6 separate regions of the Homo sapiens genome follow, and all the other regions are linked to region 1. The links are contacts of gene promoters, found by promoter capture Hi-C in blood cells and fetal thymus (Javierre and others, 2016). All regions are on one chromosome and are shown on one strand. The core of a region is centred on a gene start or on the middle of the fragment in contact, and the rest is flanking DNA. Distances in the headings are between cores, read along the strand shown. Region 1 holds the start of LINC02332 (long intergenic non-protein coding RNA 2332). Region 2 overlaps SLC7A7 (solute carrier family 7 member 7). Region 3 has its middle 150 kb from the start of TRD-AS1. Region 4 overlaps OXA1L-DT (OXA1L divergent transcript). Region 5 overlaps TRD-AS1 (TRD antisense RNA 1). Region 6 overlaps TRD-AS1 (TRD antisense RNA 1).

What was found. Contacts are between HindIII fragments. The CHiCAGO score rates a contact against its expected background, and 5 or more counts as called.
Region 2: a contact is called between a fragment that was not itself captured here and the fragment with the promoter of LINC02332 in region 1, in 1 of 17 cell types (erythroblasts). The highest score is 6.1, in erythroblasts.
Region 3: a contact is called between a fragment that was not itself captured here and the fragment with the promoter of LINC02332 in region 1, in 1 of 17 cell types (total B cells). The highest score is 6.0, in total B cells.
Region 4: a fragment that was not itself captured here is called in contact with the fragment with the promoter of LINC02332 in region 1 in 2 of 17 cell types (M0 macrophages and M1 macrophages); the score reaches 5.6 in M0 macrophages.
Region 5: a contact is called between a fragment that was not itself captured here and the fragment with the promoter of LINC02332 in region 1, in 3 of 17 cell types (total B cells, naive B cells and M0 macrophages). The highest score is 9.4, in total B cells.
Region 6: a contact is called between a fragment that was not itself captured here and the fragment with the promoter of LINC02332 in region 1, in 1 of 17 cell types (total B cells). The highest score is 6.0, in total B cells.

What each region holds. Positions count from the first base shown.
Region 1 is chr14:22,554,995-22,559,122 of GRCh38, forward strand. It overlaps LINC02332 (long intergenic non-protein coding RNA 2332), which reads right to left and starts at 2,068. Exons shown (of 3, transcript NR_146543.1): 1 at 1,957-2,068; 2 at 1,798-1,859; 3 at 1,317-1,528. LOC105370399 (a long non-coding RNA gene) reads left to right here and starts at 1,572. Exons shown (of 2, transcript XR_007064066.1): 1 at 1,572-2,572; 2 at 3,733-4,128. RefSeq lists enhancers at 404-533, 1,114-1,213, 1,264-1,603, 2,464-2,673 and a silencer at 1,714-1,763. The HindIII fragment of the contact is 9,123 bases long and covers 1-4,128 here.
Region 2 is chr14:22,795,025-22,799,152 of GRCh38, forward strand. All of the region lies in intron 2 of SLC7A7 (solute carrier family 7 member 7), which reads right to left. Among named protein-coding and RNA genes, the nearest start is that of SLC7A7, 18 kb to the right of the region's middle. RefSeq lists an enhancer at 1,490-1,559. The HindIII fragment of the contact is 480 bases long and covers 1,928-2,407 here.
Region 3 is chr14:22,327,293-22,331,420 of GRCh38, forward strand. It overlaps TRA. Among named protein-coding and RNA genes, the nearest start is that of TRD-AS1, 150 kb to the right of the region's middle. The HindIII fragment of the contact is 6,538 bases long and covers 1-4,128 here.
Region 4 is chr14:22,721,694-22,725,821 of GRCh38, forward strand. The region is part of intron 1 of OXA1L-DT (OXA1L divergent transcript); the gene reads right to left. It also overlaps the pseudogene LOC100421646. Among named protein-coding and RNA genes, the nearest start is that of OXA1L-DT, 43 kb to the right of the region's middle. The HindIII fragment of the contact is 1,826 bases long and covers 793-2,618 here.
Region 5 is chr14:22,398,727-22,402,854 of GRCh38, forward strand. The region is part of intron 2 of TRD-AS1 (TRD antisense RNA 1); the gene reads right to left. It also overlaps TRA. Among named protein-coding and RNA genes, the nearest start is that of TRD-AS1, 82 kb to the right of the region's middle. The HindIII fragment of the contact is 4,583 bases long and covers 1-4,128 here.
Region 6 is chr14:22,417,199-22,421,326 of GRCh38, forward strand. All of the region lies in intron 2 of TRD-AS1 (TRD antisense RNA 1), which reads right to left. It also overlaps TRA. Among named protein-coding and RNA genes, the nearest start is that of TRD-AS1, 64 kb to the right of the region's middle. The HindIII fragment of the contact is 4,339 bases long and covers 56-4,128 here.

The sequences.
Region 1 (4,128 bases), core at 818-3,317:
CAGAGGGCCCAGCTATACGGAACTGGGCATTGCTTAGCCTGGAGGGAATAGGCAGCTGAGGAGACCTGGAAAACACAGTCATGAAGAGACTGGCCATGAAGACCCACAGACCCTGCGAGCCAAGGCCTTGGGCTGCAGCTGCAGCTGCAGCTCTACCAGCCTGGACCCAACCTCAGGCCGACATCCCAGCAGGGAACATGTTACTAAGGCCAGTTGTAGAAGGGACTTCTCTGGACACATGCCCTACTCTCCCAAAAGACTTAAGCACAGGCCAGTCCCAAAGGCAGAAGAATGGACTAAATGAGCTCTTGTGGCCCCAGCCCTAAGATTCTAGAGGACTCTCTGAAACTTCACTTGAAGACTTGACCTCTGAGTGCAACTGGAGTCACAGCCACTCAGGAGAAAGGGCAGGCTATGCAAGCACGTGCTTCAGGAGCATCCTGGTGAGGTCTTCAGCTCTGACAGAGCAACCCCTCTGCTGCTACCCTCACTGGGGGCAGCCATCTGAGTCTTAAGGAGTTGCTTATTTTTTAGGTCCAAACATAAAATTCAACTCCCCTGGGATCACGTATACAGACAGGCCTATAGCACCTTATTATCAGGTACCATCCTAGTGTGGAAGTCCCCTGGCCTGTGTGCTCTGTGGGATGGGAATGTCCCTTGTCATCAATGTGTCCCCAGGAACTAGAACAGTGCCTGGCACACAACAGATGCCGTTAAATGAATAAGTGAATGACTCCTGCAGTTAGGCTCTGGGTGGGGGGAGCTGAGTGTGAGGAGTGGGGAGTACAGGAGAAAGGAAAGTGGGGATTAGTAGAGGAAGTGGTCAGGTGAGTCAATGCTTCACAGTTTTGCCAAGAGCTAAAGTAACTTGTCAAGAACTTCAGAACAAGGAAAGCCTGAGTGGTGGCCCCTTGCTCAGGGCAGCCCCCAGGCAGGCACACATCTATCCAACAAAGCCTGGAGGACAGGGACTGTGGTAAATCACGCAGGGTACCTGGGAGTCTGACCTCACTGTGTGACCACACTGAGGTCCAGAGCCAACAGTCACTTTATGTGGGTTCGCCTCAGTTTCTCCATGAGTCCTACTCTAAAACCCATCTACCTCCGTGAGCCATGTGTGGGAAGACGAGCTTCTGACTGGGATGAGTCTGGGGGAGCAAGCACATGGAGACCCAGTGCTGTCATTCTGGCTGCCGGAAGGCTGCAGGACCACCAGCGCCCTGCGTCTGTGTCAAGGCCACCTGGGCAACGCGGCGAGGGGTGGGGAGTGCAGGCCTCCTTTCACACAGAGACACACAGGCCTGAGGCCTCTCTGGGTAGCACACATAGAGCTATATTTTGCAATTAATAAACAGGTCAGACATTGAGTCAGTAGCCACAAGTAGAACAGGAAGTGGAAAAAGTCTCCCACTTCCCTCCAGGTGTTTGGGGGCTGGGGCGGTCCCCTCCCATTTCCATGACGTCATGGTTACCAAGAGGGGCAAGTAGGGCACCCTTTGAAGCTCTCCCGCAGAAGCCACATCCTCTGGAAAGAAGAGTTTAAAATACTGAGTTAGAGATAGCATCGCCCCAGGCCACGTGCCGAGGGGAGCAGGCTGGGCCGTTACACCACCCCCCAACCGCAGGTGCAGCAAGGCCAACATGCCAGGCTGGGAGGGGCTGCCGGCCCCTCGGTGACTTGCACCGGGCCCGCAAGCAGGCTGGGGAGGTGCTGCTGGCCCCACCGCTGAGCCGCCTCCCTCACCGCACCTCTGCTGCCCCTCCAAACCAGCCAAGATCAGACCTTGATCTCACCTGATTAAGCGCTTGCTTAGTACAGGGCAGACCCTCGAGACTTATGCTCAGGCCAGTGTCTCCTGGGAGGGAAGGAGGTGGGGAGGCCGTATTTGCCCCCACACAGAGCTAGGGCTGATTCTCTGAGGGACCCCCCCCCAATAGCACCTCCCCCCTTACCCTGATGCTTGTCCATTAGGTGATGGCCCTAATGGACGCCTTGATGGACACGTCCGGGACCCAGGGACCCGGAGACCAGGAATCTGCTGGTCTCAGGGAGCCGCAGAACCTGAAACCCAAAAATACCAGGCTTGATCGCCTGCTCTTCGGTAGTGTCGCCATCCACCCGCATGGGGGCAGCAGCGCTCCACCAAAAAGACCTCTTCTCCCTTTGTCTGTTAATTCTGGAGATAGAAAGCCCCCAAAGTTTAGGAAAAGCTCTTTTCCGAGGAAAATAAAAGGGCAGGTGACTTTTATCCCACAAGTCCCTGCCCTGTGCCCGTCACTGCGCTGGGCGCAAGGCCTGTGTCATCCTGTCACATCCCCCCCCAAAGGAGAGGAGGGCCTGGGGCCTGGGCCGGCAGCAGGGGGCGCTGTTCGTCCGGGATCGTCAGACCCGCTCCACCCGGAGCCCTGGAGGAAGTGCCCAGGGAGGGCTGGGGGCCCGGAGGAGGCCTTGGGTTCGGAATTAGGCTGGCTGGAGTCCGGGATCCACCACATCATACACTCGTGCCTTTGGCAGGTCACTAACCGCCCACCGCCTCAGTTTCCCGGTGGGACGAACTCTCTCTCACAGGTAGTTTAAGAACCAGGCTTTCTTTGGCATTGTATACCTGCCATGTGCCAGGCTGTGTCGTGCTCTGGGGATTCAGTCTCTGTGCAAACTATGACTCCATACAGATGAAGTCCAAGAACAGGCAAAACGCATCACAGGTGATAGAAATTAGGGCACTGTTTGCCTCTGGGGTAGAAGGATGGATTGAAAAGGGGCACGAGGAAACCTTCAGGGGTGGTGGAAATGTTCCATATCTTTATCTTGGGTGATGGCTATATATATATCAAATGCATCATTAGTGTATTTTCATGTAATTATGCCTCAAGAAAGTACTGCTCCCATTAAATACACACACACACACACACACACACACACACAGAGTTTCTGTCTTCAAGGAGTTAACAGTCCAGTGAGTAGTGGGTATGAAAGAGATGTGTTAATGGCTGCAATTGCAAGACAGAGGCTTTTGTTACTATATTCTCCTCAGGCAGGAGTCCTCAGGCAGGAGGCAGGAGAACCAGTTGTTTGTCCCTAAGCGTCACTGCCCCTCACTAGCCTTCTCTCCTGGGGCCTTTAATTTTTCTGAGTCCCCATGTGTTATTATTCACATAGAGATAAAAATACCTGCCCACCTATTCTCAGTGTTGTTGAAGGGATTGAAAGCAGTAATGGGTGTGGAATGCTTAGTAAACTGAAATCCCAGTGCAAATATGAAGTGGGAATGCATCAGAATGCCCAGGAAGACGAACCATGACCCGAACAAGATGGGCTGGGCCAGGTCAGATGGCACTGCCATACTGAGAAAAAAGTGGGCTGGCTGCGGCTTCACACAGCCCGGGAGAGCTCAGAACTCCCCAGGCCCTGCCGGTGCGCTGGTGTTTCTCATAGTATGTGGCCACCTCTCCAGTCACTTCGGCCCTAGGAGCTTCTTGTTACACCATGATTTTGTCACTACCTCCGCAGCTTCCCACCTCCTGCTTCCGGCTTCCAGAAGGAAGCGCGTGATGGAGGGGAAATGACAGGGCCAGGAGGCAGCGGTCAGGCTGGGCCGAGTTTCTGACAGAAGCCAACACTTCTGGCCCCACAGTGCTCACGGCCTCCCTGACTCCTCACCACATCACAGCTGAAAAGGCTCACGTCTTATCTCCCCTCTCAACCTCTGGGGGCTTCTCTGCTTTCAGAAGGAGCCCCTGGAGCCCCTGGCCGAACACATCTGAAAGCACGGAGCCAGACCTCTGCAGCGCCCTCCAGCGGGCAGGTTCTGCGGGCAGCCATCTCCTCGCAGGCCAGAACACCCCACGTCACTCCAGGACGGTTCGCCACCTTTGAGAAGAGAGGACTCCAGTGTCTGTTCGCTCTGGAAATGTGGGCATGTTCCCATTCCAAAGGTGATAGGATCTGAGGGGAGGATCCTTCCCATTTTCAAAGCCTTCCTAAAATCCCACTGATTAGTGGGGAGGAGTGCAAGTCTACCCTTTCCCCGAACCACCCACATGAAATTTAGCAACAACAACAACAAAAAAGGAAAATATTAGAGGAAGATCATATAAGTGTAAGAAGACAAGGCTGGCAGGACC
Region 2 (4,128 bases), core at 918-3,417, 240 kb after region 1:
CAGATTTATGTAGTCAGGGAGTGGGAGTGATGAGTATTGTTTTCTTTCTTTCTTTTTTTTTTTTTTTTTTTTTTGAGACAGCGTCTCACTCTGTTGCCCATGCTGGAATGCAGTGGCACAATCTTGGCTCACTGCAGCTTGGACCAAATGGGCTTAAACAATCCTCCCACCTCAGCCACCTGAGTAGCTGGGACTACAGGCATGCACCACCATGCCCAATTAATTTTTTTTTTTTTTTTTTGTAGAGACCAAGTTCTCCAGACTGGTCTCCTGAGCTTAAGCCATCCTCCTACCTCAGTCTCCCAAAATGCTAGGATTACAGGTGTGAGCCACCGTGCCCAATCTGAGTATTGCTTGCTTGCTTTCTTTCTTTCTTTCTTTCTTTCTTTCTTTCTTTCTTTCTTTCTTTCTTTCTTTCTTTTCTATTCTTTTCTTTTCTTTTCTTTTCTTTTCTTTTCTTTTTTAATTGAGACAGAGTCTCACTCTGTCGCCCAGGCTGGAGTGCAGTGGTGCAATCTCGGCTCACTGCAAGCTCCGCCTCCCGGGTTCACACCATTCTCCTGCCTCAGCCTCCCGAGTAGCTGGGACCACAGGCGCCTGCCACCACACCCAGCTAATTTTTTGTATTTTTAGTAGAGACGGGTTTCACCATGTTAGCCAGGATGGTCTCAATCTCCTGACCTTGTGATCTGCCCGCCTCGGCCTCCCAAAGTGCTGGGATTACAGGCGTGAGCCACCGTGCCCGGCCTTGTTTTCTTAATTCTCCAGATGATTCCAATCCACAGCCAGAGTTAGGACCCACTGCTGCCCAGCATCTTCCGCAACCTCCTCTAGGCTACCTGCCCAGCTTCTTCTGAGGCAGAGAGAAAAAGAAAGGAACATAGAAACATAGAACATAGAAAGGAAGAGAGCAAGGATGAGCCCCCAAAGGGACTTGATGATCAAAGCAGCATAAAGGTCTACCCCTTCACTGCTGGTCAAGAGTTTGTTCCAAAGTTCACAACAAACCCACACTAGAACCCAAGGCTCTGATGAAAGCCTATTTCTTGAGGTGAATATGGGCCAGAAAAGGTAAGTTTCTTCACCTCCACCCTCAGATGGCTCTTGGGAAAAGCCCTCTGAAAAAGGCAACTAGCTTCCAAGTAGAAGGTTCAAAGGGCAAAAGTCCGTTGGGGGGCCCAGCATCTGACTGTTCCACCTCATTAGCCACAAGTACATGAGATCAGTCATTCTGGTACCAGGAGAAGCTGCACGAGGACACCTGGCCAAAGCTCTCAGACACACAGAGATCCAAAGTCCTTCACAGCCCACAGCGGCTCTGGCAGACTCAGGGTAAGCTGTCTGCCCCCTTCCCACAGCAACCCTCAGCCCCCACCAGCACCCTGAAAGGCAAAAGCACGAAATACCCTTCTCAGCCAAGTTGAACCTGGAATCATATCTTCTGTTCATTCATCCAGCCAACATTTATTGAAGAACCCACTACATGCAATTCACTGTGGCCACATGTGTATGACACGAAGAATCTTTGCCTGATCCCTGAAGAACAGTACTCTGTAAACAAAGAGCCCTGAACTGCCAGGTACTGCTGACTCACTGGTACAGGGGACATACTGAAGGCATAGATGGTAAAAATGTCCTGGTAGTGTCCTGAATGGCAAAACAACTAGGTCTCAGTGTGGGCAAGTGTAGGTAAGGCAAGAACAGTCATGTCCACCTGTGAACAGTGGGCCAAAACACCTTGGCTCTGAGGAAAGGACAGTCGGGTGGAGCTGGACTTCTGGACACCTATCCTCTTGCTGAGAGGAAAGTTCCACCTCTCTTGCAAAACAGAAAGAAAAGGCTCAGCCCTCCTTTCTGATCCCTGAGCTATTGTGAAGTAAAATGTAAACTGCTTTTAAGTCATCCAAAGACAGCATGCGGAAGGTAAAGCTTTTAGAAATCAATAAGATGCATATGATATGAATATAACTTGCAGTAATAGATACTATTTTTAACTGACAACTGTGTGCCAGGTCACTATGTACTTACACCTATCTTCTAATTTAATCTGACAGAGAGTAAGTTTTATTATCTTTATTTTACACTTGAGAAAACTGAGGTCAGGCAGTGACTAGCTCCAAAGCCTACATCCATTCCACCACACCACATACCTCCCTAACTGTATGCAAGAATGTGAGACGGGGAGTGGGATTATCTCCCCCTGTGGTAATGGAGATGCCTAGAACTTCAGAGCACTGGGGCAGTCCACGAATTTCTCCAAGAAGTCAGAATAAGCAGCTTCAGGAGGTGCCATCTGCACACCTCTCTGTTTGGGAAAAGCAACCATTTCTACTACCCTAGACAGGACAGTGAGGCTCCTTCAAAACTCAGAATTCCTTCACTCACTCACTCATTCATTCATTCATTAAGCTTATATTGAGTACCCACTGTGTTCCAGGCCCTGTGCAGGCTCTGAGATTAAGATCCAGTCTCCAGCCTTCACTCAAAAGTGGACATTGACAATTACAAGAATCAGTTGCTATGAAAGTCACTGAGAGGCAACCTATCTACCCACACGTCACTGGAGGAGTGAATGGGGTGCAGGCAAGCACCAGGATCACTGTTATCTGGACTGAGTGCATGGAGGCTGCTGCTGGGGTGGGGGAGGGGAAGCAATATTCCTGACAGAGAGGGCAAAACGTTATTACCCTGACAATGAAATCAGCAATGAATGAAGTCAACCACCCGTATAAAAAAACCTACTTAAGCAATAACCAGTAAATGATTTCAAGGTCTATTAGTAATACCAGACTATCTAGGGCTGTAGTTCAACAGCTCTAAAGGTAGACTATGCCTGCCAAAAGACTGCAAACAACTGGCAGGAGCAGAGACTCTGTGTTTGCTCTTTGGAAACTGTCATGATTTGAATAGAAAAAGATGAAAATATGGTACAAATATAGATCACATTTCTATGAGGTAGGGACCCCATTTTATAGAAGAGAGAACTGAGGGCTGGGCACGGTGGCTCATGCCTGTAATCCCAGCAATTTGAGAGGCCGAGGAAGGTAGATCACCTGAGGTCAGGAGTTTCAGACTAGCCTGGCCAACATGGTGAAACCCCATCTCTACTAAAAATACAAAAAATTAGCCGGGCATAGTGGTGGGCACCTGTAATCCCAGCTACTCGGGAGGCTGAGGCAGGAGAATCGCTTGAACCCAGGAGGCGGAGGTTGCAGTAAACTGAGATTACGCCACTGCACTCCAGACTGGGCAACAAGAGTGAAACTCTGTCAAAAAAAAAGAAGAAGAAGAAGGAGAAGGAGGAAAAGGAGAAGGAGAAGGAGAACAAGAGGAAACTGAGGCTAATAAATTTGACCTAGCATTGATTGAATCCTGCCTGATTCCACGCTGTTCACCACCATGCACCAGTGCCTTCCAAAGGGATAAGGGTATCCCCTACACTGTTCAAGAAAAAGAAGTCTGACTCAGGGCACCCAATCATTACAGCCATGGAGAAGGCATCATTGTAGGGTAGAGATATTTCATCCAACTTTTCCAGAAACATACCTCAACCAACCTAAGGCAGGCTTAACTCTTTTTCATAAAATCGTCCCTCAACCTTGGTCCTTTCCTCTAACAATCACCCTCCATGCTTTCAGAATCATTCATCTGAAGAGCATGTCTACATTCCTTCCCGTTCCTGGGTCTCTACAATGCAGTCTGAGATGTTGCAACTCCTTCCTCTTTCACCCTGCAAAAGTTTTCCTTTGACCCTCTGAGTTGCCAATTCCAAATGACATTTTATTCCTTATTTTAAACTTAATAGCTCCTCCAGAAAGGCTATTTTTGAGTGTAAACCTGCCACCTCTGGTATGCTGCCCTTGCTCTGTGCTCTCACCTCCCCAATTAACTACACTGCATTAGAACAGTGTACATATGTCTCTCCCACCCACGAGAGCTGTGTGAGGGCAGAGAGTGGATAACAGTTATCCTTGTACCCATGGGCATAGTCCTGAACTAGACACACAGTAACACTTAATACATTTTGCTGGGTGAATAAATGATATTTCTGAAACCTGATTTCACCCTCACTGCCCTGAAATTTCATTGCCTTAGGAGAAAGCCCACATGAAAAGCCACCAGTGACCT
Region 3 (4,128 bases), core at 462-2,961, 230 kb before region 1:
AGGCAGGAGAATCACTTGATCATGGGAGGCGGAAGTTGCAGTGAGTGGAGATCACGTCACTGCACTCCAGCCTGAGCAACAGAACAAGACTTCGTCTCAAAAAAAAAAGTAAAGACAAGAATAAGTATCACCCATATGGCATGACCAAAGTTTTTGGTAAACCTAGGGTTTTTTTTCTGTTGTCAGTAATAAAATTGCCCTTAAAAACTAGTTTTTATTTCTCATTCCTGAACTCATTTACATATAATGTCGAAGTATGATAAATTCAAACTATGCTGACACCTGTACGAATGTGGCTTAGTATGATATAAAGTCTTTATACTTTCACCAACTTCAAACCTCAGTTTCTACTGTTATAAAGTTCATTTCACTCTCTCTTGTGACCATTTAAATACTTTCACATATTTCATCGCATTTTTCATCTTCTAGGGCTGAGGACTCCTAATTCTTAAGAATATTTCTGTTATCCCTATAATTACTGTCGTGTCTCTCCAGGCATTCTTTTTTAGTGAACAGTTGTCATTAATCACTTCCAGAAAGGATTCAAACACCATCTCTACATTTATCCTTCCAAGTGCTGTGACTATTGCCTTGCGAACTACATTTTCCAGGCTCCCTTGCAGCTAAGGTGCAGATCTGTATTCAGCCAAGTATTTGATTGGGAGATGAGCCATATGAGGAACAGGTTAGGCAGGGGCATCCCTTTTCTTGGTTTAGGGGCAGTGGAGGCCATGTGGTCTGGGTTAGGCAGCAACAGCATCTTCTTGATTGGGCCAGGAGCAGTAACTTCCTGTTTGGGCCCATTTGGCTGCATATTCTGTTGCTGGCAGCACTGGAGGCAGCTGGCATAGGGATAGGACTGCAGCCTTCTTATGAGGCTGATGGATGGGTGGTTCTGGGCATCACTCCTGGAAGTCGAGCCTAGAATCTTTTTCTCCAGTCTGCCCAATGATTCTATGAGCCTTCTGCCTCCCCAAATCCTGATCTGCTTACACTAGGTAAAGCGATTTCCTTTCTTTCTTGTCCCTTAGCACACAGATATCTCACAGTGTTTAGTCTGAGACCCACCACAGCTTTCATTCCAGCATCCTTTAAGCTGAGTATCAGACCTGGTTCACTTTTTCACTGCAGTACACTTGGCTCATTCCAATGAGGATGACTTCATGTTTATAGTGATTTCTGGTTCCTTTGCTTGGAAATCCTAAAAGATAGAAAAGAGTCTCCAGTTGCTGCAGACGCAGGCATGAGATATACCGAAAACTCTCCAAAATTGTCTCTTGGAATGTTTCTTCATTACTTCACTAGGTTTCTTTCTAACCTTCAGAGCTAGTAAGGACCTTGGATTAAAAGGGCCATTGAATTTCTAGTTTAGTTAAGAAATATTTTCCTCATTTCATGGGAGTGGGGAAGCAGTGCAGACTAAACTCAGAGCCCACATCATGTTGTTCTTACCAGTTCAAATCAAATCACGGTTTCCAGTCACTTGGCTAATATTTATCCTTCTTTAAATCTTGATGAAATGTCTCTTCCTCAATGAACACTTCTCTGCCCCTCAACCTAAATTTGTTCCCCTCGTGTTACTGTTTTAAAGAACCCTGTAATTTCTATGTATTTCTGTGTGATTATTTGTATAATATCTGTCCTTCCTATTAACCTCTAAGTTCCACTAAATGCTCTGTGTTCAGAATAGTGCCTGGCACAAAGGAGTATGACAAATAGTGATGAGTGAATGAATCTGAGCCATCAGACATGTATCTTACTTTGTGTTGGGCTGTCCCTCAAGTGTAGATGTTCCTAGTGACAATCCCATTAATTCAAACACTGACTGGAGAGGATTGAAAACATATGAAGCAGTGCTTTTGGAACTGAGGCTGTAGTCCAATATGACTGGAGATAAAAAATGAAGACTTTAAAAACAGAATTCACATAAAAGCAGGTATCAACATGGAAAACTGCAGAGGATGCCTGTATACACAGTGGGCACAGCAGCAGCATTAGACCAATCACCTCCAAACTTGAGGTTCCAGGCTGAGGTGACAGATCAGAGTGAACCAGGCACTGTAGAACAATGGGAACACTTAGATTCCTGACACTGGAATTTGCTGATTCTTCTACTAACGTGTAGCAAGAAATTTAGCCTTACCCAAAGTCAGGTCTGGTCTTTGTCCCAGTTCCTGGGAGATAACCTCTGAAGGCTCGGAATTTCCTGAATTGTTGGCATGTCTTTATAATTGATGGTGGGGTCCTTGGACCGCACTTAATAGTTTCTGCTATCAAGATGACTCATTGTGAGGCTGGCCACAATCAATGGTCTCAGGATGGGGGCTGGCCATGCCAGAAAGACCAACCATATAACATAGGGTGGAGGGTTTGTGTCACAACCTAGAGAGTGAGTTCAACCACACAGGCTATCAGTCATCTGATATAATGAAGCCCCAATAAAAACTCTGGACACCAAAGCTCAGCTGAGTTTTCCAGACTGGCAATATTCCATGGGTATTGTCACGCCTTGATGCTGGGAGGGTAACTCATCCCTGAGGACAGTGGAAGTTTCACGTTTGGAACCCTACCAGACTCTGCCCTATGCATCTCATCCCTTGGCTGCTTTTAATGTATCCTTTCTCTGTAATAAACGAATCACAAGTATACTAGGTTTCAATGAGTTCTATGAGTCTTTCTAGTGAATTATGGAACCTGATTTAGGAAATACCCAACCTTGCCATTGGTGCCAGTAGTGAGAGTGGTCTTGCATGAACTTATCTCCCCTTTGTAGTTGAGTCCTAGCGACTTACAGTTGGGGGCAGAAGTCTTATGTAGATTTAGTCTGGAGGTCTATGACCTTAACCTTGCAGTTTGGCTAACTCTGGGTAGCTACATTTTGTATTGAGCAACTCTATATGAATAAAAGAAGTTTTGTTCATATAATGCCTTAACAGTGAATCAAGTATATCAAGAAAGTTTTTTAAAAGTTAAAAGTAGGCAAGTCTACTGGTAATAAAGTAGGCAAGTCACAAGGTAATTAAATGCCTACGTTTCAATGATTACACATGTTGCTTAGAACATACACATATATGAGATCATCACGTTAAAATATTTCTAACACACAGGCTGGCAACACCTAACAATAATAATAATTAGTAATTGTCTAGTTCTTACTACTAACTGGTTTCTGTTCTGAGTGTTCTACATATATTAACTAATTTAATTCTCATAAGAACTCTGGTTATTAGCCAGGTTTGTAGAAGCTGAGGCACAAGGAGGTTAAATACTTCGCCCTATGGCACACTCCCAAAATTTGAATCCAAACCATCCAACTCCATAGCTCATGCTCTTAACCAATGCCCCATACAGCTTCTCAGAAGGCAATCACTTGAAATTTCTCTCTGATCTTATAGAAAGGTGTTAGTAGACTGGTTATCTTAACGTCCAATCCCAATCATCTTTGTAGCAAAGTAATATTTTTATATGAACATGTCAGAGGCATTTGAACCAGAGCAACTCCATCTTGAATAGGGGCTGGGTAAAATGAGGCTGAGGCCTACTGGGCTGCATTCCCAGGAGGCTAATGCATTCTTGGTCACAGGATGAGAAAGGAGGTTGACACAAGATACAGGTAATAAAGACCTTGCTGATAAAACAGGTTGCAGTAAAGAAGCCTGCTAAAATCCACCAAAACCAAGATGGCGACAAGAGTGACCTCTGGTCATCCTTATTGCTACACTCCCACCAGTGCCACGACAGTTTACAAATACCATGGCAATGTCAGGAAGTTACCCTATCTAAAAAGGGGAGGCATGAATAATCTACCCCTTGTTTAGCATATAATCAAGAAATAACCATAAAAATGGGCAATCAGCAGCCCTCAAGGATGCTCTGTCTATGGAGTAGCCATACTTTTATTCCTCTAGTTTCTTAATAAACTTTCTTTCACTTTACTATATGGACTCACCCTGAATTCTTTCTTGCGTGAGATCCAAGAACCCTCTCTTAGGGTCTGGATTGGGACCCCTTTCCAGCAACAAAGAGATGTGTATTTTATTTCTGAAAATACTTTTTTGCTTTGTTATCATTCTCATGTTAGGCCAGCAGCTCAGGAAGTCCTGGTCTCCTTCCTATATTGGAAAAGGG
Region 4 (4,128 bases), core at 456-2,955, 170 kb after region 1:
ATCTTGCAGGCATGGTGGCTCACGCCTGTAATCCCAGCACTATGGGAGGCTGAGGCAGGTGGATCATGAGGTCAGGAGATCGAGACCATCCTGGCCAACATGGTGAAACCCTGTCTCTACTACAAATACAAAAATTAGCTGGGCATGGTGACATGCACCTGTAGTCCCAGCTACTCGGGAGGCTGAGGCAGGAGAATTGCTTGAACCTGGGAGTTGGAGGTTGCAGTGAGCCAAGACTGTGCCACTGCAGTCCAGCCTGGTGAGAGAGTGAGACTCCATCTCAAAAAAAAAAAAATAGTTCTTTGCTGGTGCAGTGGTTTGCACCTGTAGTCCTAGCTACTAGGGAGGCTGAGGCAGCATGATCACTTGAGTCCAGGAGTCCAAGGCTGTATTTCACTAAGATCTAGCCTGTGAATAGCCACTTCTCTCCAGCCTGGGAAATAGAGCAAGACCCCATCTCTAAAAATAAAAATAAAAAAAAGAAATAACTCTTTATCACACTCTTAAGTTAAAGAAATATTTGTAATCTATTAAAGAGCAACTATAGAAACCTATAGCAAACATCATACTTTGTCGTAAAATGTTGAAAGATTACCTTCTGAGATCAGGAATAAATCACCATGCTATCACCCACTTCTACTGTACTACAGTTGCTATCCAATGCATTATAGCAAGAAAAAGAAATTAAAGGACTAAGTATTGAGAATGGAAGAAATAATGCTATTATTATCACCACTGATATGCTCTTGGAATTAATAATTTCAATTGATACAAGTTCAGTCCACAAAAAAAAGCTTTGTTTTATATATCAGCAAAAAATAGTTAGAAAATTAAAATGTTTATTTGTTAGTCCATTCTCATACTGCTATAAAGAAATTCCAGAGACTGGGTAATTTATAAAGAAAATAGGTTTAATTGGCTCACAGTTCCACAAGCTGTACAGGAAGCATGGCAGCATCTGCTTCTAGGAAGGCCTCAGGGAGCTTTGATTCATGGTGGAAGGCAAAGGAGGAGCAGGCATCTTGCATGGCAGGAGCAGGACCGAGGGCAGGGGGAGGTGCCACACACTTTCAAACAATCAGATCTCATGAGAACTCACTATTGTGATGACAGCACCAAGGGAGATGGTGTTAAACCGTGAGAAACTGCCCCCATGATCCAATCACCTCCTATCAGGCCCCACCTCCAACACTGGAGACTACAATTGAACATGAGATTTGGGCAGGGACATATCCAAACTATGTCAGTTTAGGAGCTAAGTGCAGTGGCTCACACCTGTAATTCCAGCTACTCAAGAGGATGAGGAAGGCTGAGCATGGTGGCTCACGCCTGTAATCCCAGCACTTTGGGAGGCCGAGGCAGGTGGATTGTGAGGTCAAGAAATTGAGACCATCCTGGCCAACATGGTGAAACCCCGTCTCTATCAAAAATATTAAAAAATTAGCCAGGTGTGGTGGCATATACCTGTAATCCCAGCTACTTGGGAGGCTGAGGCAGGAGAATTGCTTGAACCTGGGAGGCAGAGGTTGCAGTGAGCCGAGATTGTGTTACTGCACTCTAGCGTGGGTGACAGAGCGATACTCCCTCTCAAAAAAAAAAAAAAAAAAGAGGATGAGGAATGAGGATCACTTAGGGCCAGGAGTTTGAGACCAGCCTGAGCAACATAGCAGGAACCTGTCTCTAAAACAATTTTTAAAAATTAGCCAGCAGTGGGGACAATCAGTGACAGCAGGTGGTCTCTAAGCCCAGTTGCCGCCTAATCTTTCCCTAACTTTGGGTGCTACCTTTAGAGGGGACAATTGTGGGCAGAGAAGCTGCATCTAGATGGCTGTGAGAGGCAGGAGGGGTTCCTGGGGGCTCAGCTGGCTCTGCAGGGGAACAGGGGATAGGAGTCAGGATTGTCCAGGAGGGTGGCCAGTAAGGTAAGAGGTTACCTTACTGAGAGGTTACCAGAATAGGGCTCCTACCTGAGCTCCACACCTGCAGGGCCCCAGGCAGGACCTCCCTAGTGGTAGCTTCCACAGCTACAGGGCAAGTGAAGCAGGAGGGGCAGAGCTGATCTTGCTTGTCTGAAGGGCTTGAAGCCAGCACCCCTGGGCACGGGCTGTGAAACCAAGGAGCAGCCTGTGGAACCCCCATCATCCACCCTCTACAGAGGGCTCATAGAAAAAATTGTAATGTTCCTCCCAGCTTCTCCCTCTATCCACTTTTGAACAGAGTAGATTGCCTTGCTAGGCCCAGAGCCAACTTTGACAAGAAGCGGTCAGGCTGAATCTTCAACCCATAGCAGAGCAAGGTCCCCCTGGCCACCCAGAAATTCAGCACTCTGGACAACACAAAGAGGAAGCATTTACTGGCACCTTTTCCTCCACCCATTTCTGTACTAATAGAAATTTCTGTGAGGATGGAAATGTTCTATGTCTGCATGATCCAATGTGGTAGCCCCTAGTCACATGTGACTGTTGGGTACCTCAAGTGTGGCTAGTGCAACTGAGGAAATGAAATTTTAACTTTATTTAATTGTAATGTCTTTTCCTAAATGACAAAGATTTGTTTTTATGTTATGGGTGCTGTGAATCATTACAAGATCACATTTCTCTCTGTGCTGGCTGCTAGGAAGCTTGTCAGTTTTGGATCCTATGGTTGCAAGAGTATATAGCCTCATGGCATGCGCCTTTAATATAACCTCATTCTCAGCTTCCTTTTATTTTTACTTTTTCCCATTGCCCTGCTTAATTTTTTATCTTGTCAATGTGGTAAGCCTTGAATCCTTTGTGCTGGGATAACAGGTGTGAGCCACCACGCCTCCTGGCCCTAGAATGAAATTTTTAACTCAAAACTAAACTATAAGCTATTTATAGGAGGTAAAAGGATGAAAAAATATATACTAGAAAAACGTTAACTAAAAAAATCGGCATACGTTTATTAATATTAGGTAAAATAGACTTTAAAGCCAAAAATAGCATTATGAAGATGAGGAGGATCATTGCTTGAAGGGGTGGGTTGCCCCTCCACACCTGTGGGTGTTTCTCGTTAGGTGGAACGAGAGACTTGGAAAAGAAAAAGACACAGAGACAAAGTATAGAGAAAGAAATAAGGGGACCCAGGGAACCAGCGTTCAGCATATGGAGGATCCCGCCAGCCTCTGAGTTCCCTTAGTATTTATTGATCATTAGTGGGTGTTTCTCCGAGAGGGGGATGTGTCACAGTCACAAGACAATAGTGGGGAGAGGGTCAGCAGACAAACACGTGAACAAAGGTCTTTGCATCATAGACAAGGTAAAGAATCAAGTGCTGTGCTTTTAGATATGCATACATATAAATATCTCAATGCTTTACAAAGCAGTATTGCTGCCCGCATGTCCCACCTCCAGCCCTAAGGCGGCTTTTCCCTATCTCAGTAGATGGAACGTACAATCGGGTTTTATACCGAGACATTCCATTGCCCAGGGACCAGCAGGAGACAGATGCCTTCCTCTTGTCTCAACTGCAAGAGGCATGCCTTCCTCTTATACTAATCCTCCTCAGCACAGACCCTTTATGGGTGTCGGGCTGGGGGACGATCAGGTCTTTCCCTTCCCATGAGGCCATATTTCAGACTATCACATGGGGAGAAACCTTGGACAATACCTGGCTTTCCTAGGCAGCGGTCCCTGCGGCCTTCCACAGTGTTTGTGTCCCTGGGTACTTGAGATTAGGGAGTGGTGATGACTCTTAACCAGCATGCTGCCTTCAAGCATCTGTTTAACAAAGCGCATCTTGCACCGCCCTTAATCCATTTAACCCTGAGGTGACACAGCACATGTTTCAGAGAGCACGGGGTTGGGGGTAAGGTCATAGATTAACAGAACCTCAAGGCAGAAGAATTTTTCTTAGTACAGAACAAAATGGAGTCTCCTATGTCTACTTCTTTCTACACAGACACAGCAACAATCTGATCTCTCTTGCTTTTCCCCACATTGCTTAATGACATAAAGTTCCAGCACTGAATAACATAGCTGCAAAAAATATAAAGCAAGGATTAACATGATGAAAAGGAAATATTTCTAAAACCATCATCATAGTAGAATATTTCACACAATTATTTTAGTTATTGATAGTTGAGGCAGATAAAAAAATAAATCTTTT
Region 5 (4,128 bases), core at 1,025-3,524, 160 kb before region 1:
GCACTCAGTGAGTATTAACTACTTTTGCTTTTGAGTGTGATAATATCCTGAGGATGATTACTAAATTTCCCCTGTGTTGGGCTGGGTTGAGCCTTTAGGAAGTTGTTGATAAGAAATGTCAGTCTCTTGAACAATTAAACATTATTTTCTACATTAGTATCCTATCTAGTAAGAAGTAAATATCAATGGAAATTCAGAGAAATACAATTCAAAAGGCCTTCAGGACCTTTTTCCTGGATGGCAATAAATTATTGAGGGCTTCCTATGTAGAAAAAAAAAAAACAGAGGAAAGTAATTTCTGCTTGACCATCATAAAATAAGCAAATATAGGCTTTGCGAGATATTAAAATACAACAGTAACCCCACTCATTAAATGAATAGAATAGTGGAATAATGTATAAATTTAAAGCCAAAAGTAAAATTAAAGTTGTTTATGCACATATTTTTGAAGTAAAATATTTGTTCTATCAACATAAAAGGCATAGTAGATGACCTGAAAAAGTTTCCACCTCCAAGAAGATAACAAATCAAGTCAAAGTCACAGTATGCCTGACGTTGTGTCATCCTCAAAAACTGGGAAGTCAGGATCAGTCCAAGACTCCAGAAGTGAGGAGGCTCTAAAAGACACCTCCACTTCAGCCTCTGCTTATTCAAGGCCCCAGCCATGGAAACTCGATGGTGTGAACTGCTGAGCTGAGAACTGGGGGTAAGTGAGGACTGTCTTCTCTGTTTTCTTTTCTGAAGACGCAGGGTCTCCTGCTAATTCGGATTCTGTGTTTTATTCATTAGTGGGAACACAAATCCCCTGCTATCTTGCTAGCTTTCTCATTTGCAGCCAACATATGGGTTTATCAGCACGGTTAGCCCCCCAAGAACAGCCCTTCAGGGACATGGGATAACACAAAATGGGAAATTCTTCTTGGAATAAAGAGTTGGGGAAGGATCCTTTGTAAAATTTGGTTTTGGGGTCAGATTTCAAAGTCTTAACCCTCATGGGACAGGCAGAGACTCGGGGATATTTGGTGAGTGACTGAGTCCCTATTCCTCCTGAGCTTGCCCTTCCCCAGGGCACCTCAGAGCCAGAACTGCTGAATGTTAACATGGGGCACTCAGGTTTCCTACAGGACACTTACAACTCTGGTAACCCTGCTGTATACTCTGCCAGTAAGGAACTACTTAGTAATTCCTCCGAGAGCCAACATTCAAAGACTAATGCCACGTCACATGCAATAGGGAAATGCAGCTCTATCTGTCATTCACATCTCTGATTCTGTCATTCATTACTCCATGCTAAAAGTCCCAGTGGGAGAAATTGTCTTTCTTCTTTTTCAAAACCAGCTTCTACTGAAGGTAAAGAAAAGTTTAGGGGTAGAAGAACAAAGTCATTACAGAACCATGCATTGATTGGTGAGCACTGCCCAGGGGCAGGTTTTGTGGTAATGATCCATAAGAAGCAAAGCAAAAATTATGGTGGAGTCGATGGAATATTTGAGAGTCTCTGCCCCAACCATCTCATAATCGAACTGGGAGCCCTCCAATCTCCCCATGCAAGCCTTGGAGGACAGTCATAGAAGAAAAAGTGAGCAAGAAGGTTTAACTAGCTAACAAGTGTTCATCAAGTATCCATAAATCTCAGGGTACAGAAGTGGCATTTTTGTATTCAATCATGTATATATTAGTGTTTGCTATGTGCTGTATCCCATGCCAAGATCCAAGCCTTCTTCCACTGTGTAACTCATACCGTAGCAGGGCTTACAGTCTAATAGAGGACCCAAATCAGATGCTTGTGGAAACAAGAGAAATACTTGGTTGTAATAATTATGGGGGTGTTCCAGGAGGAAAGTACAGATTGAAATTAGAATATTTCAATTTCAGGATGAGTTAGGTGATGGGAGCCAAGAAGACATGCTAAAGGAATTAAATCCTGAGCTGAGACTAGATATGAAAAAGTTTGTTTATTTACATCCCAAGTTCCCAAGTCAGTAACAGAAGCAGAATTACAACTCGAGAAAGGCCCCACTTGCTTCTATGCTGTTTTGCTCAGCAGCTGCTTCCTTTGGTGGCACACAGCTGGGAAAGTGAGTCACAGATGGACTATTGGCAGCCAAAATTTTTTTAGAGACAAATGACACTGTGATTTTTCCTGACACCCATTGAAATTCCTCACTAATTTCCAAAAATATCTTATGTTGTTTTAAAACATCCAGTGAGGCCCAGACATTTCAGTAGAACAAATCAGAGAAACAAAGTTAATTCCAGCCATCTGAGCATTCTGAGCCCAAATCAGCTAGACTGAGAAGAAGAATCGTTTACTTACCGAAGGCAGTCCCAGGACACCCAGCAGCTAAGGTCCTGACTCACAGCATTCTAACCAAGAGAAAACACAAACACAGCATCTTCTCTTTTCATTCACTTCTGTTCCTGTTCTTCAGTTGCTTGTCCAACCAGCTGGAGACACAGCAGAGAAACCATAAAGCAAAGAAAGCAATTAGGAACAGGAGAAACAGCTGATAAGCACTCTGCCTAGGTAGAGGTGAATCCTGGGCACCCATCAGGGAAAGACTTTGCCATTACTAAGGCTTTAGGTGAGGAGTTTGAGGGTTACGAATAAGAGATAAAGCAAGGAAAGGGCTTTTCTTTGCCAAATTTATCTTTTTTTCACCCATAAAACTCAAAGAGGATAGGGAAAGAATGAATGTATTCTCAAATCAAAGGAAAAATAGTTCTAAAACTTCCAATGAGTGAGAAAATCAGAAGTTCTGGCACTGACTCCCATTTATATTGAAGTAATACTATGGGTAAATATTTTATATCAAAGACCCCAGAGTGGCAGAGACCATCAGAGAATGGCATTAAACTGGGCACGCATAGTAGCCGATATGGGGTTAATTTGATTTGACCTTGGCATCTTTTCTCTTCTTAAAGTCCTCCCATCCTTTCTTTATCCTGTATAGACAAAGAAGACTGGGGTCTAACTTTTATGTGTCTTCCATCCTAAGCTGCCAGAGACAGTCCTTTGCCAAAGGGCACAGTAGATTGATACTGCCCATATGTCTCTGACACGGCTCCACTCAGCTCATTCATTTATCTACCCAAGTCCTACGGCAGCCTAACATGGCTCAACAGACTGCTGTTTCCCTCAGAGGAATGTTCTGTGCCAGCCTTGAAATAACAAGTTCTGTGTCTCTCCTGGTAACTATGGCTCAGGCAGGGGGCTATGACCAGGTCACTAACCCCACCATGGCAAAGAAGAAAAGACAAGGCAAAGAAGCCAATATCTGTGGAGGGCTTACAAATGAGTACCTGGCACAGGAATAAGCCCTTCACAAGTGTTCTCTCATTTCAACCTCACAGCATCCCTGCAAGGTAACTATAATTACCCCATTTGCAAATAAGGAAATCAAGACTCAGAGTTGTAATTTGTCCCGCTACTGGTAAGTCACAAAGCAAGATTCAAAACCATGGGCTAGTAGACCTGCAAAGTCAGTGCTCCATTTACATGTAGGTAATATGGGCACTGATACCACCTAGGCAGTGAGCCACAAGCTATTACAAGCAGGTTCTATCCAAGTGGGAGGCACCTTGCTCTAGGTACCTAGCAGGTTCTATCCAAGTGGGAGGTACCACCTGCTGCAGAGTGCCCCACTTCTCCCTGCACCTAAAACAGTGGATAAAAGACCTGGATTTCCCATGTTTTATCCTGAGTTGCTGGCAAATTCTTTCCTAATCTCAGTCTTCACTAGATAAGCAACCAACCCTCTTGGTTCCTTGAGAGTTGGGGCGTCTAGAAATCCTGCCTGGACTAGCAAATATCTGTGAGTTCCTAATATTGACCAGCTCTGCACTGGACATTAGGAATGCAAATATAAATAAGGTACTGTTTATGTTCTAAGTACTCTTAAAGTTCAATGCAGGAAACAAACAGATTATCAGAGAATAGAGGTGATAAGTGTCATGGCCCAACATGGCAGGGGGCCAGGGGAACGCCTCCCTCAGGTGGAGTTAAAGAAGGGAGAAGAAGGATGGTATGGCTTTTCCAGGAAGAAGGAGAAGCCAGTGTAAAAACTGAGCATCTGGAAGTCTATGACACATCTTTGAACCTGCAAGTATTTTATGTGGCTAAAGTGT
Region 6 (4,128 bases), core at 975-3,474, 140 kb before region 1:
GGAAGAAAGGGCCAACAGACTGTCCCAGAAGCAGAATGCTTCAGTCCTCCAGGGAAGCTTTGGGGGAGATCTGCCCTCGTGTCCTCCTACAGCTCAGCTGAGAGCAGCCCTGGAGCCTCAGAACCACAGGCCCTGTAGTTCCCTGGGTCTGGCAAACCCCTGGGAGAACAAATCACTGTCCTCCCCACAGAGCCAGCCCAGCACTGAGAACACCATACAAGCCAGAGGATGCTTGCCAAATAGATGCATGAACGAACGAATGAATGAATGAATGACTCCTCTGATGAAGTTGTCCCAGGGAGAGTTTGTGGGAATACTGAAAAGGAGGGTGGTCCCCAAGCTGGTACCCCAGTCCTTGATACTCTGATGTGGCTTTTTAATTTCTCTGTCTTCCTTTTACCTTGATGTATTTATTCTCTATCAATCTATTTGTTTATTTATTTATTTACTTTAGGAATCAAGCCAGACACCTTGTTGGAGCAACAAGAGCTAGAGATATTTGTTCCTTTTAGAAGAAGCAAAATTTTCCAGTGCCAACTGACAGGGAAGAAGATGAATAATTACACTATGTCCTGGTAAAGAGGACCCGAGACGGCTTCCTGATTTTCGTACATCAACAAGGAGACGTCTATGACCCTGGTCTCCAGCACACCTTTCTTGGTAGAGTTGAGAATTCAACCAGCCAGTTCTTCCTGGAGATTCTCAGAGCCACATTGAGAGAGCAGAGGACTTACAAGTGCTGCCCTATCCATGGTGACTCCCCTTGGCCTCTAGGTAAGTCACACACTGAAGCCTGCCCCTCCCACCTTCCACCCTGGTCAGCTAATCTAGGTTAGTGCAGGTCTAACCTAGATTACAAGGCGTGCTCGTGTGCATAATTTCATGACCACCAACAACCACATGGGGCAACGTTATCCCCATTTTATTGTCCAGGAAACCGAGGCCTGGTGTGGTAAGTGACTTGCAAGTAAGAGGAGGAGTGAGATATAAACCCAGATTCCTGAATCTAAATTCAGTGGTCTGTACTGCAGCATAGCTGCCGCCTCTTGAGAACTAGAGTGGGCAGTGTGGAAGTGGGAATTCCCAAGTTCCCAGGCCTCTTCCAGCTCAGTCTTCTATGTAAAATTTTTCTTTTCCAGGCTTGTCTGAGCAGAGGTAGAGTGACCCTGCCGCCTGTTCCTCAACAGTCTGTGCAAATTCAAAGAAATAGAGTGTGAATTCAAGGAACTCATTTGAAGAACAGGAAAAGCAACTCTCTCCTTGAGGTTATCGGGGAAATGAAGGTTGAAACATGGATCAGAAGACTTGCTGAGGTCCCTTCCACCCTCAGCTCTTCCATTCTGTTCCCAAATGAGGCCCAAAACACAGCTTTCTCCATCACTCTTTAATCTGTTGGTTGATTTGTCTGGTGCACCCAACCAGCACTGTGGCCCTGAAAATAAAATGTTAATTACATCAATCTTACAGCCATCCATCGCTAGCCATCTGATGCTGATAGAAAGGCAGGAAGCACTCGTGGCAGTTTGCATATCAGGGTCAGCAGTTCCTTTCTTAACCCTCCTCTGTCTGGCAAGGCTAAGGGAGCAGACGTTCCTGTAATGACCTGGCCTGTCTTTAGAGCTGCAGCCCTAAGAGCTGGTTTTCTTCCTGTGGCTATGGTCTTGGCACTGAGCTCCTTCCTGCTCTTCTTTTGCTCTTGTGTGTAGCGGACCACAACATGCTTTCAGATCAGACATCCTGTGGGCAGAAGAAATTATTTCACTTCAATAAGAATTTTTGAAGACCAGTATGGGTTCAACGGGTGCTTTTGGGAGATTACACCAGAGATAAGAACAGACTAAATCACACGCGTGAGGCAGCATTTACAAATCATACAACACAATATGCAATAGCAGCTTCTGAGTTTCTGCAGAGGAAAGGCTAAGGACAGCAACCTGGTTGGAAGATGCCTCAGGAACTTGCCTTGAGGCTGTATTTTCATAGCACATAAGATTGGGAAAGACATCAAAGAATGGGAAACCTTCCATTCTGGAGAGATGGAGATTATGGGGGAGAATGGATAAAGCCCCCAAAAACACTCTTGCCTCTCCTACTAACTGTTCAAGTCTCAGGTATCATTATTTGTATGACAAAGAGAAAATTAACATCGTTAAGCAATGAGCCAAGTGTTTACAAGTATAATTTCATTTATTTCTCACAGAAATCCTATGAGTTATCTTCTCCCATTTTACGGAGTATAAAAAAATTAGTTTTTTCTAGAAATCACATGAAGGGACAGACATCCCCTTGGCAGGACCAAGGAAGCTGTGGCCTAATTGCTGGCCTTGACACGAAGGAATGACTGAGCACAAAGAACACAGCCTACACAGGGCCGGAGGAGGGTTGGGTCTGAGGGCAGAGCCCTGGTGGATGTTTCTGCCTTCCACCTGGGCACCCTGAGACAGGCTGTGTTTTTGTTGAAGTTCCATCTTGTCCTGCCACAGGCCCAGGCCAAGCTGACTGCTCCTGACCTGGTGAAGCACTAGCCACACTCTGCCCCAAGCTCCCGCCGCATCATCACCTGTCCTCTCCTGTACTGTCTTCTACCTCTGGCTTTGATTTATTGTTCATACCAGCTTTCTCTCTTAGTCAGGCCTAGAGGAAGGTTGTTTTTGGCCATTAGCAATAAATTCTTAAAATTCCCTCTAACCGGTGGAAGATATAAATCACAGTCATAAACATAATACACATTCTTGGGACTTTTCAAAATGACTTCCTGAATAATTTGAGATAGTTCAACAATAATTTTCTAGAAAGACAGGCTTATTTGAGCCCTGCTAACTACTCTTTTGATATTAATACAGCTTTAAACCCTCTATACTTCTTTCTGCCTCAAGGCTTTTTTAATACATGTCCTCATTTGTTACATAGAATGTTATTTCCCCACCCATGCCCCATACCTGTTTCAGGCAGGGTCCAAGCAGGAGACAGGGCACTCTCGGAGTGATTAGAGAGAGTTTAATGAAAGGGACTTTTACAAAGCTGTGGACAGGTGTTATGGATTGAAATGTGTCCCCCAAGGGACACATTAACTCTCAGTACCTTAGAATGTGATCTTATTTGGAAATAGGGTCACTGCAGATGTAGTTACCTTAAATGAGTTCATACTGGAGTATGGTGGGCCCCTAATGCAATATGACTGGCATTCTATATGACAGCCAAGTGAAGACAAAGACACGCAGGGAGAGAAAACCATGAGACAGTGCAGGCGGAGACTGGAGTGATACAGGTGCGAGCCAAGCCAAAGACCATCAGAGTTTCCAGCAAACCACCAAAATCTAGGAAGAGGTGAGGAAGGATTCCCCTACAGGTTTCAGAGGGTGCATGGCCCTGCTGACACCTTGATTTCAAACTTTCAGCTTCCAGAACTGTGAAACAATACGTTTATATTGTTTTAACTACCCAGTTTGTGGTACTTTGTTAAGGCAGCTACAGGAAATTAATACAGAAGGGTTATGGGAAACCAAAAAGAAGGTGGTGAAACACCCAGGGCTGGCAACAAAGAACCGCTGCCATGCCAGGCCTGAAGCGTGTAGGGGAGGAGCCTTTACTGAAACCTGCAGCTGTGGAAGAGGAGTTATAGCTTCCAGTGAAGGAAGGCACTCTCCTCCTTCCCTCCAGTCTCCTGAAGGTGTCTCCATTGGCCAAACCAAATGGGATGGAGAGCCGGTGGATGCTGCCAATTAAGGTCAGGCTCAGAGTAAGAAGTAGAGTGGATGTGCAGAGGCAAACAGACTCAGTCTCAACTGCAATGCCACTTCCTCTTCAGGGAAGCCTTCCCTGACCTCCTGACCAAACCTGGCCTCTGTAACATGCTCCCATAGTCCTTCTGCTTCTGCAGAATATTTATAGCTGCAATGGAGGGATAAATTATGCAAATTATTAAGTGATGACTGGCTCTCATGCTAGAACATAAGCTCCATGAAAGAAAACACTGTGTCTGCCATTCATCAATGGCAGACCCTGAATCCTCAGGGCCTGGCATATAGTAAGAATGACTAGGTTTTATAGGATGTGCCAAGAACTAAGCAGCCTGATAGAAAAAGGTCAAGTATTTAAGTCCAAACAGATTGACCTTGGCAACTTTCA